Regions from separate parts of the Homo sapiens genome. Here region 2 is linked to region 1. Evidence: promoter capture Hi-C in 16 types of primary human blood cells and fetal thymus (Javierre and others, 2016). All regions are on one chromosome and are shown on one strand. Each heading gives the region's core, a stretch centred on a gene start or on the middle of the fragment in contact. The rest is flanking DNA. Distances are from core to core; before and after follow the strand shown.

Region 1 (3,214 bases), core at 289-2,788:
CCAGTTCAAGCAATTCTCCTGCCTCAGTCTCCCGAGTAGCTGGGATTACAGGCGCATGCCATCACGCCTGGCTAATTTTTGTATTTTTAGTAGAGACAAGATTTTGCTATGTTGGCCAGGCTAGTCTCAAACTCCTGACCTCATGGTCCGCCCACCTCAGCCTCCGAAAGTGCTGGGATTACAGACGTGAGCCACTGCTCCCGTCCGGTATTTTTAAATGTAAGTTTTTCTTCTTTTCCTTGCATAGCATTTAAGGCCCTCTCCAAATTCTGTCTCCCAACCACTTTCCCACCCTGGTCATTCTTTGACAGTGATTTATTAAGCACAGCCTCGAAAGCATGGAGGTGGCCTGGGGTAGGCACTCGGGCTTCAGTGGTGAATGAAGCAGTCGTGACCCTTCTGACTTACTGAGTACAGCAGTCTCTCAGCTCTGCACTTTTACTCAAGACCTGCACTGTCTGTCTCTCAGTATCCTTTTACCCTATCAATTCTTTTTTTTTTTGAGATGGAGTTTTTGCTCTGTTGCCCAGGCTGGAGTGCAATGGTGTGATCTCAGCTCACTGCAACCTCTGCCTCCTGGGTTCACGTGATTCTCCTGCCTCAGCCTGCCGAGTAGCTGGGATTACAGGCGCCCGCCACCATACCTGGCTAATTTTTGTATTTTTAGTAGAAACAAGGTTTCACCATGTTGGTCAGGCTGGTTTCGAACTCTTGATCTCAAGTGATTCACCCACCTCAGCCTTTCAAAGTGCTAGGATTACAGGAGCGAGCCACCATGCCTGGCCTTACCCCATCAATTCTTAGCTGGCCTTCAAAGCCCATCTCAAAGCCTGACTTCTCAGCAAACCTCCCCCCAGCCCCAAGCCCCTTAGGGTGAATCACCTCTGGCCTGGCACGCTGGCTCCCCTCTTCCCAGGTGTCTGGATCTGCCTCACTGGATCCGTAAGCTCCCTGAGGGTAGGCTCTGGGCCCTTTACTTATTTGTGCCCTTGTTAAGTCCCACCTACACCCACATATTCCAGGCTCATTAGATTCTTGAAATAATGACTTTTTATTAAAGCAGACATAAGTAGGTTGCAGGAGCATCTATATTCCCAACTTGGTCTTGGGTACAAAGAAACTGAGACTTCACGCTTGACTCCTTCACCTGAAACCCAAGCTACCTCAGCTGTTTCCTACCTCTCAGCTTATTCTAGGGAGACTCAAAGGTAGGGGCGGAGTGATTTGCTGGCCCAGGGTCCCTGAGGCACATTGATGTCTAATTCCAGGGGATGTCCATGATCCCTATCTCTAGTCTCTCCAGAGATTCTGGTTCTCGTCCTGCCTGGATGCTCACCCTAGGGCAGTATGAAGTTTTTCCATCTCCAGCAGAGGACTCTGAGGGAAGCGATTGGGAACTCTCTTTGGCTTCCGCTCTCTGGTAGGGCAAGGGTTAATGGTGAATTGCAACATATCTCTTGGCTGAGTCACCTCCCTCTGCCTCTCCCCCAAATTCCCCTCAGCTGTTATAAAGAGGACTAGAGGCTGGAGAGTAAAAAGAACTGGGGGTAAGAGCCCCTCTGCCTAGCACTGCTCCCCCAAGGCTCCCAGAAATCTCAGGTCAGAGGCACGGACAGCCTCTGGAGCTCTCGTCTGGTGGGACCATGAACTGCCAGCAGCTGTGGCTGGGCTTCCTACTCCCCATGACAGTCTCAGGCCGGGTCCTGGGGCTTGCAGAGGTGGCGCCTGTGGTAAGTCCCCCAAGAAAGAGACCTGGGCCAGCGGAGGGACAGGGGTTACTGCTCCACAGCCCCATCGAAGCCTCCCTCCTGACCTTCAGCCTGCCTGCCTTTCCCTTGCTCTCTCTGCCCCATGGTCTACCCTGCCCATCTCCCGCTGCTTCCCCTTGTTCCACCTGAGCCCCTTCTCTAAGGTGCTTCTCCATTAGTGCTTCCATATCAGGTCCCTCCTCTCCTGATGGATCTGTTAGGTCACTTAGAAGCTTTACTCTGAGACTAACCCCCTTTTAACCTGCTTACCTCCACTCCCATCATAGGACTACCTGTCACAATATGGGTACCTACAGAAGCCTCTAGAAGGATCTAATAACTTCAAGCCAGAAGATATCACCGAGGCTCTGAGGTGAGAAGCTATGAGGTGTATGCCTTTAGGGCTAAGGTCTCAAGGTCTTCTTCCTTCTCATCCCTTCCTCTCCCCAGGCCCACCTCCTCCTGACCCTAAACCATGCCAGGGATTTAGAGATGGGTGGCGATCATTATTATGGTGGTGGGGCATGGGGTGAGATGGGGATTCACAGATGAGGAATACAGGCATTGGATCTTCCTAGGCCATAAGCATTCCTTTGGAGTCTCTACCCACATCATATCTCAAATACTAATATTTAGTTATAGTCCACATAAAGTGTAATGATATGTAAAACTGAGTTGAGTTGTTGACATGCTATTACCTTTTGTGGGCCTTCAATTTGGTACTTATTTATTTCTATTTTATAGTTTTATATGTTGATGTAATGGATTATTTTTCTTTCTGCTCTCAGATATGTTCAGGTCCCTTGAAAAGCCCCTAGGCCCTATGACAGTCCATAGATGGATGAAATTGCTCCAGGGCAAGCTGGGCTGGGACGGGTATCCATTCAGGAAGGGAGAAGGCTGAAGGAGGACAGGCTGTCAGGTGGGAGCACTAGTGGAAAGCTCTCCAGAGCAGGGGAGCCAGACACCTCCACAGAGTAGGAGAAGGTTAGAAATTGCAGTAGAGGGGCTGGGCATGGTGGCTCACGCCTGTAATCCCAGCACTTTGGGAGATCCAGGCAGGGGGATTGCTTGAGCCCAGAAGTTTGACAGCAACCTGGGCAACATAATGAGACCCCATCTCTACCAAAAAAGAAAGAAAGGAAGAAAGAAAGAGAGAAGAAAAAGAAAGGAAGGAAGGAAGGAAGGAAGGAAGGAAGGAAGGAAGGAAGGAAGATTGCAGTAGAGGAGGAAGGCTACACCTGAGGGCAAACTTACTCAAATAAAAGACACTGAAAATGGGGAGATGAAGCTGGAGTATCTCCATTTCTGCAGAACAGAAGAGAAAGTCCCAGTTATGAGGACTGGAGGCTGGAGTAACCCTGTCAGCTTCAGGGATTCTGTGCTATTCTTGGCCATGAACTTGGGCAGCAGGAAGTCAAAGAGCAATCATCTCCCAGTCATTTCAGATTTTCCTGTCCTGGTAG
Region 2 (3,214 bases), core at 207-2,706, 110 kb before region 1:
CAGGGTTTGAGAGTGACTCTGTATTTATCTTTCAGGGAGCCAGGTGTGGGGAGGACAGCCAGTGTATCCCCAGGAAACTGACGATGCCTGCATCTTCCCTGATGGTGGACCTTGCCCATCTGGCTCTTGGTCTCAGAAGAGAAGCTTTGTTTATGTCTGGAAGACCTGGGGTGAGGGACTCCCTTCTCAGCCTATCATCCACACTTGTGTTTACTTCTTTCTACCTGATCACCTTTCTTTTGGCCGCCCCTTCCACCTTAACTTCTGTGATTTTCTCTAATCTTCATTTTCCTCTTAGATCTTTTCTCTTTCTTAGCACCTAGCCCCCTTCAACTCTATCATAATTCTTTCTGGCAACTCTTCCTCAATTGTAGTCCTACCCCATGGAATGCCTCATTAGGACCCCTTCCCTGTCCCCCCATATCACAGCCTTCCAAACACCCTCAGAAGTAATCATACTTCCTGACCTCCCATCTCCAGTGCCGTTTCGAAGCCTGTCCCTCAGTCCCCTTTGACCAGTAATCTCTTCTTCCTTGCTTTTCATTCCAAAAACTTCAGGCCAATACTGGCAAGTTCTAGGGGGCCCAGTGTCTGGGCTGAGCATTGGGACAGGCAGGGCAATGCTGGGCACACACACCATGGAAGTGACTGTCTACCATCGCCGGGGATCCCGGAGCTATGTGCCTCTTGCTCATTCCAGCTCAGCCTTCACCATTACTGGTAAGGGTTTAGGAAGGGGCAAGGCCAGTTGTAGGGCAAGAGAAGGCAGGGAGGCTTGGATGGACTGGAAAGGAGAAAGGTGAAATGCTGTGCAAACTTAAAGTAGAAGGGCCAGGAAGACCTAGGCAGAGAAATGTGAGGCTTAGTGCCAGTGAAGGGCCAGCCAGTCAGCTTGGAGTTGGAGGGTGTGGCTGTGAAAGGAGAAGCTGTGGCTCAGGCCTGGTTCTCACCTTTTCTGGCTCCAATCCCAGACCAGGTGCCTTTCTCCGTGAGCGTGTCCCAGTTGCGGGCCTTGGATGGAGGGAACAAGCACTTCCTGAGAAATCAGCCTCTGACCTTTGCCCTCCAGCTCCATGACCCCAGTGGCTATCTGGCTGAAGCTGACCTCTCCTACACCTGGGACTTTGGAGACAGTAGTGGAACCCTGATCTCTCGGGCACTTGTGGTCACTCATACTTACCTGGAGCCTGGCCCAGTCACTGCCCAGGTGGTCCTGCAGGCTGCCATTCCTCTCACCTCCTGTGGCTCCTCCCCAGTTCCAGGCACCACAGATGGGCACAGGCCAACTGCAGAGGCCCCTAACACCACAGCTGGCCAAGTGCCTACTACAGAAGTTGTGGGTACTACACCTGGTCAGGCGCCAACTGCAGAGCCCTCTGGAACCACATCTGTGCAGGTGCCAACCACTGAAGTCATAAGCACTGCACCTGTGCAGATGCCAACTGCAGAGAGCACAGGTATGACACCTGAGAAGGTGCCAGTTTCAGAGGTCATGGGTACCACACTGGCAGAGATGTCAACTCCAGAGGCTACAGGTATGACACCTGCAGAGGTATCAATTGTGGTGCTTTCTGGAACCACAGCTGCACAGGTAACAACTACAGAGTGGGTGGAGACCACAGCTAGAGAGCTACCTATCCCTGAGCCTGAAGGTCCAGATGCCAGCTCAATCATGTCTACGGAAAGTATTACAGGTAAGAGTATCAGTGCGAATGAGGTTCACGGAGGTGGGGTACCCTACTCTACTCTGTAAGTCTTACCCAGGACTCAGATGTTACCCAATCCTTTGCTTAGCACTATGGTCCCCTCAGAGTTCTCACTGGCCTGGCTATAAAGCCCTCCAGTCTCTCTTAATGACATGGAATAGGTCTGGAGTTCAGGAAACCAAGGTCTTCCCCTAGGCCATGAGGAAAGAGCTTGTTGCTTTCTCTACTGCTGAGAACGGTTGGCGAGACCAGGGAACAGACTGTGATCATTTATATAATATTTATAGCTCATTTTCTGTTCAAGCATAAATGCACGAAAATCCTTCCCAGATTCCGAGATCCTGATCCTTCCATTTCCCAACCCTGGATTCCCATCCCAAAGCAAAAAGGGAGGAATGAAACAGTGATGCTTAAATGAGTTAACACACGTTGAATGTCTAGCCTAGGACCTGACATAGTGTGGGGTGTGATAAACATTTGAGGATTTTTTAAAACTCCAATGCCACCCCTAACTGTGACTCTGGAGGAGTCATTTTCTTCTTCTGGGCCTCAGTTTCCTTATCTATAGAATAAGGTTTCCCAGGTCTTATCTGATTCCAAGCCTGTGACTCCAGAATCCAGTAACTCTGGTTCAACCTGAAAAAATGCCTGCTTGGCCTCTGCCTCCAGATGAGTCATCTGTCTCTTGATCTTGCCTCCTTGATCCTCTCCTGCCAGGTTCCCTGGGCCCCCTGCTGGATGGTACAGCCACCTTAAGGCTGGTGAAGAGACAAGTCCCCCTGGATTGTGTTCTGTATCGATATGGTTCCTTTTCCGTCACCCTGGACATTGTCCGTGAGTCTTGCCTACTTTGGTGGCTGATGGAGGCAGCTGTGTGCTACCTAGGGCTGGTCAGTGGAAGCACACCTTGGGAGGAATTACTCACCTAGATAGGAAGAATACCCAAATGCCAGAGTCCTCATTTGAAAGCACAGGGATGGGATTGGTGGAGCAGCCCTGGGGCTTTTCTGTCTCTGGGCTTTTGGGGAGGCCAGGTAGAGGAATCCTAATTTGATAAGCTTGCAACTCTGCAGAGGGTATTGAAAGTGCCGAGATCCTGCAGGCTGTGCCGTCCGGTGAGGGGGATGCATTTGAGCTGACTGTGTCCTGCCAAGGCGGGTGAGTGTCTCACTAGTGTGCTGGTAACTCTTTGGTTGACTGTTTCTCCGCTCTCTGGCATTTAGTGTCCCTTCCCAGATCCCCTTATATATGCTGACACTTCTTCCAGGCTGCCCAAGGAAGCCTGCATGGAGATCTCATCGCCAGGGTGCCAGCCCCCTGCCCAGCGGCTGTGCCAGCCTGTGCTACCCAGCCCAGCCTGCCAGCTGGTTCTGCACCAGATACTGAAGGGTGGCTCGGGGACATACTGCCTCAATGTGTCTCTGGCTGATACCAACAGCCTGGCAGTGGTCAGCACCCAGCTTATCATGCCTGGTAGGTCCTTGGACAAGAGCTAAGATGAGGAAGGG

What was found. The method cuts DNA at HindIII sites, captures the fragments that hold promoters and counts their contacts. A CHiCAGO score of 5 or more calls a contact.
Region 2: a contact is called between a fragment that was not itself captured here and the fragment with the promoter of MMP19 in region 1, in 2 of 17 cell types (endothelial precursors and total CD8 T cells). The highest score is 5.4, in endothelial precursors.

The regions. Positions count from the first base shown.
Region 1 is chr12:55,841,260-55,844,473 of GRCh38, reverse strand. MMP19 (matrix metallopeptidase 19) reads left to right here and starts at 1,538. Exons shown (of 9, transcript NM_002429.6): 1 at 1,538-1,730; 2 at 2,036-2,121. The coding sequence starts at 1,644. The HindIII fragment of the contact is 3,493 bases long and covers 1-1,983 here.
Region 2 is chr12:55,955,429-55,958,642 of GRCh38, reverse strand. It overlaps PMEL (premelanosome protein), which reads left to right. Exons shown (of 11, transcript NM_001384361.1): 4 at 36-170; 5 at 559-720; 6 at 972-1,694; 7 at 2,424-2,540; 8 at 2,780-2,864; 9 at 2,974-3,179. Among named protein-coding and RNA genes, the nearest start is that of PMEL, 9.0 kb to the left of the region's middle. RefSeq lists an enhancer at 1,237-1,738. The HindIII fragment of the contact is 2,620 bases long and covers 147-2,766 here.